Regions from separate parts of the Homo sapiens genome. Here region 2 is linked to region 1. The links are contacts of gene promoters, found by promoter capture Hi-C in human tissues and cell types (Jung and others, 2019). All regions are on one chromosome and are shown on one strand. Each heading gives the region's core, a stretch centred on a gene start or on the middle of the fragment in contact. The rest is flanking DNA. Distances are from core to core; before and after follow the strand shown. Region 1 holds the start of RNF121 (ring finger protein 121). Region 2 overlaps NUMA1 (nuclear mitotic apparatus protein 1).

Evidence for each region. Contacts are between HindIII fragments. The study calls those that stand out against the background at their distance.
Region 2: a fragment that was not itself captured here is called in contact with the fragment with the promoter of RNF121 in region 1 in 1 of the 25 tissues and cell types used here (spleen).

The regions. Positions count from the first base shown.
Region 1 is chr11:71,927,298-71,931,095 of GRCh38, forward strand. It overlaps RNF121 (ring finger protein 121), which reads left to right and starts at 1,749. Exons shown (of 9, transcript NM_018320.5): 1 at 1,749-1,827. The coding sequence starts at 1,765. XNDC1N (XRCC1 N-terminal domain containing 1, N-terminal like) reads right to left here and starts at 1,297. Exons shown (of 6, transcript NM_001375847.2): 1 at 1,068-1,297. It overlaps XNDC1N-ZNF705EP-ALG1L9P (XNDC1N-ZNF705EP-ALG1L9P readthrough), which reads right to left and starts at 1,297. Exons shown (of 11, transcript NR_172895.1): 1 at 1,068-1,297. RefSeq lists an enhancer at 1,130-1,439. The HindIII fragment of the contact is 22,719 bases long and covers 1-3,798 here.
Region 2 is chr11:72,067,123-72,070,920 of GRCh38, forward strand. It overlaps NUMA1 (nuclear mitotic apparatus protein 1), which reads right to left. Exons shown (of 27, transcript NM_006185.4): 2 at 2,720-2,789. Among named protein-coding and RNA genes, the nearest start is that of MIR3165, 3.3 kb to the right of the region's middle. The HindIII fragment of the contact is 8,682 bases long and covers 1-3,798 here.

The DNA.
Region 1 (3,798 bases), core at 499-2,998:
CCGAGGCGGGTGGATCACTTAAGGTCAGGAGTTCGAGACCATGGCCATGACCCCATCTCTGCTAAAAATATGAAATTTCCCCAGGCGTGGTGGCGCGTACGTAGTCCCAGCTATTTGGGAGGCTGAGACATGAGAATCGTTTGAACCCAGTAGGCGGAGGCTGCAGTGAGCCCAGATTGAACCAGTGCATTCCAGCCTTGGTAACACAGCGAGACACCGTTTCAAAGAAAAAAAAAAAGCACTCAGATTAAAAAACAAAATGAAACACAATACAATACTATATAGTCATGGCTACATATAATTATTAAAAATGGACTGGGAGAACACAAGCTAATTCTAATTCATAATAGTTGCTTCTGGAGAGGATGAGAGGGTAATAGGCTTGAGAGTAGAAAAAACAGGTAAGTTTAACTTTTATTGTATTATCTAGCTTTTAAAAAATAAGCAAATAAATCATAATGCCAGTAGTCAATTTAGGGTGATGGGTGTACAGTATTTACAATATTCTCCGTATTAAGTGTCACAAAATAAAAATGATTATTTTTAAGTAAATGGGATGCCTGTGGATGATGTAGATAATTCCCTGTAATTTTCTGTTGGTCCCAATGTAAAGCTGACTTTTCTAGACGTTCTGTGGGCTCACAGGCCATCCTAGTTCCATTCACCAGACAGATCCAGGCGGACGCCCAGAGGCGTGTGAGCTGGGGCTACAGGCTTGCAAGGTATCGAGTTCACCGGCTGCTGAAAAATCAGTTATGAAGGTATACGTAGGGGTGGGACAGTGAATGGTGTATAAAAAGGAGGGTAAGGCAGAAGCTGGGGCCGCAGGATGTGGGTTAGAAAAGTGTGCCGAGGTGTGTGAACTGGCATGACAGCCTAAGTAAGACGCGGAATGTGGGTGCCCTGGAGGTCCCGCAAGGCTCTTCAGCTCTCAGTTTCGGGAGCTCAAGCCGCACCGCTGCTTTCACAGCTCATCGGGAACAGGCTGCTCAGTTCATTTCCTTGATGGCCACCCTCCTCCCTCTCGGCCACTCCCCTCCCCATCAACAAATCCCAACGCCCCTCACCCGGGACCGTGGACCTCGAGGAGCCACCGTTGCCTCGGATCTCGGACCACCAAACCTATTCTCCCGCCAATTCGGCCTTCTGACCTTCGCCTTCTGACCCCGAGAGCTACTCTTCCGTCTTCCGTAGCACAGGAATGCGTTCTGGGGCTTCAAGAAGCTGCTGTTTTTGAAAATGAGTCCTACCGAGGCAAGATGGCAGGTGCTGCAGCCAGGAAAATACATTTCCGTGTGTTTTAATATTTATTTTCACTCACTACAACTCTTTCGTGGAGGGAGCGGAATTTAAACTTCCGGGTCAGCCTCAGTGCAGCTTGGGAAACGTAGTTCCTAGTCCCCACGTCTCGCTCCTTGGAGCCCAGACTGAGGGAGCGTCGCGAAAGTTGCCCGTTTTGGAACGCTCCCATTTGGCTCTCCAAAGGGAAGAATTGGTTAAATAGTTGCACTGAAAATAATGCGATTCAAATTTCTCATTTTCCAAGAACGCTCCCTTGCTGAAGCTTGCAAGGGCACGGTACTCCCCTCTCCTTGACCCTGAAACGTGCAGCAAGTAGATAACCTCCTGATCCCTGACAGTCTCCGCCTGTGTTGATGCCCCGCCCCCTCTGCTGGAGTCCGAGCCGCCGATTGGCTAGGAGCACTTGAGCAGCGGAAGCAGCTGGCTCGCGCGGGGACTGCGGTGAGGGGGCGAGCCGTGAAGATGGCGGCAGTGGTGGAGGTGGAGGTTGGAGGTGGTGCTGCTGGGGAACGGGAGCTGGATGAGGTAAGCGGAGTTGAGAGACGAGGAGAGACTCAACCTGAGACTGAGGGGAGGGGCAGTGAGGTATCGGGAGGTGGGGGTCTTAGGAGAGAAGGGAAAGATCCTGAGAGGGAAGGAGCTGACTAGGGGGCGGGTGCGTGGAGAGCGAAGTCAGAGGCACTCCTGACTTGGGGACTCCGAGGCGGCCTTGGGAGTAGAAGACTTGCATTAGCCTCAAGGGTGAAGATGGAGGACAGAGAGAGAGGTCGGAGGGGTGGGGGTGTTAAGATTTTGTGATTACTAGCTGGGTGTCTTAGGGTAGGACCGAAGGGCTAAGAGGTAGTTTGAGTTGGAGGGACGTGAATTTCTTCAGGGGAAGGCTGGGCTTCTACTGTGGGAGAGGACTCTGTCTAAGCCTAGGGTGGGGGTTGGGGACACAGACCGGGAAAGAGTGCTAATCCACTAGTAGTATAGCTTTGAGTTATCTTAAAGTTGGAACTGTTTTATTTATCGTTCCATTCTAAGACTTTGTATCTAATGCATGCTCAGTAAAGTTTTGGCCAACGAATGAAGGAACAAGTGGATGAATAAATGATTGTATGCCGGAATTCATGCATTTATTCACTTAATAAACATTATGACTTTTGCTCCGGGTTCTGGGCCAGGTGCTAGGGAGACAAGGGGCCCCTCCGTTGAAGAGCCCACAGTCTAGTGGTGGGAGACAGACAAGAAGACTAGTCATTGCATTAGAGATATAATGGTGGCACTGAGAAGTGTGCAACATTTCAGCTTGGGATAGGGAAGGCTTCCCGGAGTTGCTGAGTTTTAAACGATAAATAAGTGTCTCTCTCTTCTTCTGGATTTATGAGTTCCTTGAAGGTGAGCTCCTTGAGATTGTATGTTCCCTTTACCTATCTAATAGGCATTTAAAGACTGGTGTATTAAAATACCAGTGGTCCTTGAAGGAATCACTAGGAGGAAGGAGATGTTGAGTGTGAAAGGAATGAAGGGACAGGGCAGAGAAGCAGAGACAGAGGTGAAAAGATTCTGAAGCCATGGAGACATTGATAGCTAGTGGTGTTTGTGATCTTGCACATGCCAGCATATGGGCAAAGACATCACAGGAATAGGAGGAAGGGGATTGGTTGTCAGAGATAGAACCAGTGAGATCTCTGAGGGGTCAGAATCTTAGAGGCCCCTTGCTGTGTGTTGGGTGTGGGAAGAGTGGGGAGGATTGGGGATGATTGAAGATGAGGTTCAGAGAAAGGGAGAAGTGGACTTGGGAAGCAATAAGACTGTTGCCTGGTAGTGGGATGAGTTGGAGGAGTTGGATTACCTGATTGGGATCATTAAGGTGGGAGGAAGGGACTGAGAAATTGACAGGTGATCACAGCAGGGGGATTTTTAAAGAAGTGTTGTAGTCTTCTACCTCCCAATCACTAGAGACTACAGGTGTTTGGATACCAGTTGGTTGGTTAGGTGGAGTGGTTGTGGAAATGACCTCCAAGACCCCTTCTAGCTTTTACATTTCTGTGATTACAGTTGGCTGTGGTTCAGTGAGATATATTTGAAGACACTTTGGAAAGGGTAAATACTGTATTGAAGTTCTTATTTAAGGTTTGTTAGTCATGGGCTCTCCCTTGAGACAATTACGTATATCTCAAAGCTGTAGTTACATATGTCAGGGTTCATTGAGATAAACAGCAGAAGTTTTGGCAGAGGAGAAAATAACATTTTCTTTTTTTATTTGAGATGGAGTTTCGCTCTTATTGCCCAGGCTGGAGTGCAGTATTGCAATCTCAGCTCACCACAACCTCTGCCTTCTGGGTTCAAACAATTCTCCTGCCTCAGCCTCCTGAGTAGCTGGGATTACAGGCATGCACCACCACGCCCGGCTGATTTTTTGTATTTTTAGTAGAGACAGGGTTTTTCCATGTTGGTCAGGCTGGCCTCGAACTCCTGACCTCAGGTGAGCCGCCGATCTTGTCCTCCCAA
Region 2 (3,798 bases), core at 360-2,859, 140 kb after region 1:
TCCTCTTCTTAGTGAGCTTGCTAGGCACTAGGCTGGAAGATCTGAGCTACAAAGTAGCCTATTTTATCTTTGGGGTAGCCTGTAGGATCTAAGTATTGAAAAGCAACTAATTAGGCCACTTTGTCCTCCAGCAACTGGCCCTGCTCTTGGGCATTAACTTCCAACTGGTACACAAGGCTTTTTCTCTAAATGAATCCCACTGTACCAATCACTAGGAGAATCCCTTTAAAAAAGGCTTGAAATTAATAACAGCAGGAAACAAAGTCTCTCAATCCTCTGAATCACAATATCCACACTGTCCATTTTGATGAAATTCACCCCCACCTCCTTCAAACAATAGGTCCTACCAAGGAATGACTTCTCTCAGGACCAACATGTCCTGTGATTGTTTTTCTGGAGCAAGCTTCCAGTGCCTGCTTCTCATTAAATAGCTACTTAATGTCTGATCACCCAGCTGTGACTATAAGTAGAGAGTAAAGTAACTATAATTTAGGAAGTAAAAAAGAAATTCCACTCCTACCCCAAGTCCAGTAGTCAAACAGCTTAGAATAGACATTTCCCTACCTCAAACCTTCTTAGGCTTATCCAATTTTCAGATCTAGAATTTTTAGCATCTCTTAACTCTTTCAATATAAAAATGAGGAAAACAATGTTTAGAGTAAGAAAGAGAATTGCAAATGATTATACAGTAACTTAGTCACAGAATCTTTTGACCAGGCTGTCTAACACCTCATTTAACTGATGAGTTTTCAAGACCACTGTTTCCAGGAACAGGTTACAGGGCACTACAATATAATCAGCTTAATTTGCATATATTCAAGATAACAGCCCCTAGGCTTGACCCCTTCACCATCTTCCTGCCTACCTTTTTTCAAACCCACAACTGCTAACAACAACAAAAAAATCAATGTAGTGATTTAATACATCATTTCTGCCTAAAAAAAGACTGGAGCTACCAAACCATCTGCTTCAGCCTCACCACCTGGGATTCATCTTGATTGATTTGGGTGTGTTGGTGGGCAGTGGCTGCCACAGCCTGAAGAACTCTTCCAACTCTTTCTGGGGGTCTTCTGGAGATGGGACTGCAATGGCTCCTCAGCTGCAGTTTCCTATAGAGCAACATGTTGAAACACACTTGTTCCCTCAACACACTTGTGTTTCAGCCCTCAACACACTTGTGATTTGGGAGGAGTACCAGGAGAAAGACCAGTTTTTGGCAGGGCGCGGTGGCTCACGCCTGTAATCCTAGCACTTTGGGCGGCCAAGGCGGGTGGATCGCTTGAGGTCAGGAGTTCAAGACCAGCCTGACCAACATGGTGAAACCCTGTCTCTACTAAAAATACAAAAAATTAGCTGGGCATGGTGGCACATGCCTGTAATCATAGCTACTAGGGAGGCTGAGGCAGGAGAATCGCTTGAACCCGAGAGGTGGAGGTTGCAGTGAGCTGAGATCCCGCCATTGCACTCCAGTCTGGGTGACAGAGAGAGACCCTGTCTGGAAAAAAAAAAGAAAAGAAAGGCCAGTTTTCTCCATTATCTAGTCACCCCAACCTATAAGCAAGCATATGCACAGTCACTATAAAGGAAAGTGACTTGTTTTCCAGCAGACATTTCTAATCTTATTAAATCAAATGAAAACTGCAATCAAAATACTCTCCTTAGGAAGTTATTTACTTATTCTAACAAAACACTTCTTTGGGAGCTGCCTTTAAAGTCTACTCCATGTGAGACAAACAGAAAAATTCGGTGTTACTGTTTTATAGTCACACCTCATCCTTCACCAAAAAAGGTATTGCCTTGCATGAATCTTTGGCTCACGGCATCTTCTGGCTGTTTCTAAAAATTGAATCCACCAAGCTAAGAGTAAAGATTTGCTACCTCTGAGGATATTCAAAAGATTGGCTCAGAGGCAGTCTGAGGCAATGACACCATCACCAAAGGAAATCTAAAGGCTGAGAACACAATTACTTTGAAGGGGTCAAACTTAAAAACATTCTAATTGCCCCATAATTACAATCAAGGGGGCAAGACATGTACAATATCTGTCACATTTGTTCAACTATTATATCACTTTATAATTACACATTATATAATGATAAATTTTGGCCCTGGAAGAAATCTTCAAGATCATATAATCCTAACTGTCCCTTTTTACATATGAGAAAAGTTCAGTCCATTGAGGTTAGGCAATTTGTCCCTGGTCACACATCTGGTTAGCAACAGTCAGGATGAGAAACCCAGACACCCAAACTCCCAGCATAATGCACCCACACATACTTATGTATACAGCTCCTCCTCCCCTGCTTCTCACTTCCTTCACTCCCCTGATCAAAAGGGACAGAAATAACTTGGGACACTAAAGCACACCAAGAATGGTTCTGAAACCCAGTAGCAGAGAAATGATGGCTTAAAAACCAGGACTTCTCTGCAGTGGCCTCAATGGCCAATGTTTAGTGTCTGGCTCACAAGAGTTCTGGGCAATCTACCTCAGAGCAAGGGCCAATGAAAACCTCTGGACACCACCCTCCCACAGTTAGAAAAATATCTTTATTAAACCTCTCTGCTCTCCTCCTACAGTAACCTGTTTGCCTCAAATAATTGAAAGACAAAGACAATCACTTTGAAGAATCTGGGTCAGGGAAAAAGTAAATGGTAGAGATCCTGCTCAGGACAAAGCTGACCTATGAAAAACTAGAGGGCAGAAACCATTTTGACTTACCTCCTGGTGGAAGCCTCCACACACTAGAACAGGGTGATCTCCAGCAGTCTGGCTTAGAATTAGTTTCCACCTAGGGAAGGGGCAAAGGGACAGGAATGATTATTCATTCCCCTAACCCACCCACTCTTAGTGAGCTCAGCCTCACATTATCCTGGGCAACCCCAGCGTTCTGTGGATCAGACAGCAAGCAGAAGGGAAGCCATGCAGGCCAGGTCAACGGGGTGAGTCAGTGGCAGAGCAGGAAGAGTCACTGGGGCAGAAATTCTGGCCTTCTGTGGCAAGACTGCCAAGCCACACCCACACTTGGTCAGCACTGTGAAGGCCCTGCCCTGTTAGGATTTCAGTCTTTAAGCCAGAAAACTTCTTCCTCAGGAGGCCCCACACCACTCTCATTTTCAAGTGTCTCTCCTCCTGCTCAAAAATCTTCCAGTTTTCTTCTCCCTAAAGCATCATATCTAAATTCTTTGGCTTAACTTTCCAAATCCTCCATTATATGGCCTCAAGTCATTTATTCAACCTTATTTCCCACTATTCTACAGAATATACTCTGAATTGATCAAGCCAGTCTTCCCACTTCTCTCTGCGTGAGCCAAGCCTTTTCTCATTTCCCTGCTTTCAATTATCCAGGAGTGGTAAATTCAAACATCTTCAGGGGTCAGGCAGGTAACAGAAACAAATTATCCAGGCAAGGCCCAGTGGCTCACAGCGGTAATCCCAGCACTTTGGGAAGCCAAGGTGGGCAGATCGCTTGAGCTCAGGAGTTCCAGACCAACCTGGGCAACATAGTAAAACTCCGTCTCTACAAAAATACAAAAAATTAGCTAGGTGTGGTGGAGTGTGCCTGGGTCCCACCCACTTGGGAGGCTGCAGTGAGCTGAGACCGTGCCACTGGACTCCAGCCTGGGCAACAGAGCGAAACCACGTATCCAAACAAAACAAAATGAATGATCCAGTGGGGCACATGGCAGATCTAGGAAACGCTGCACCCCCCTAAAGGCATTCAAATATTTTAATTCAAATATTTATGTAGTGTCTCACTGTGAGCATCACGATAACCTTTTAAATAGTTATTAATACTC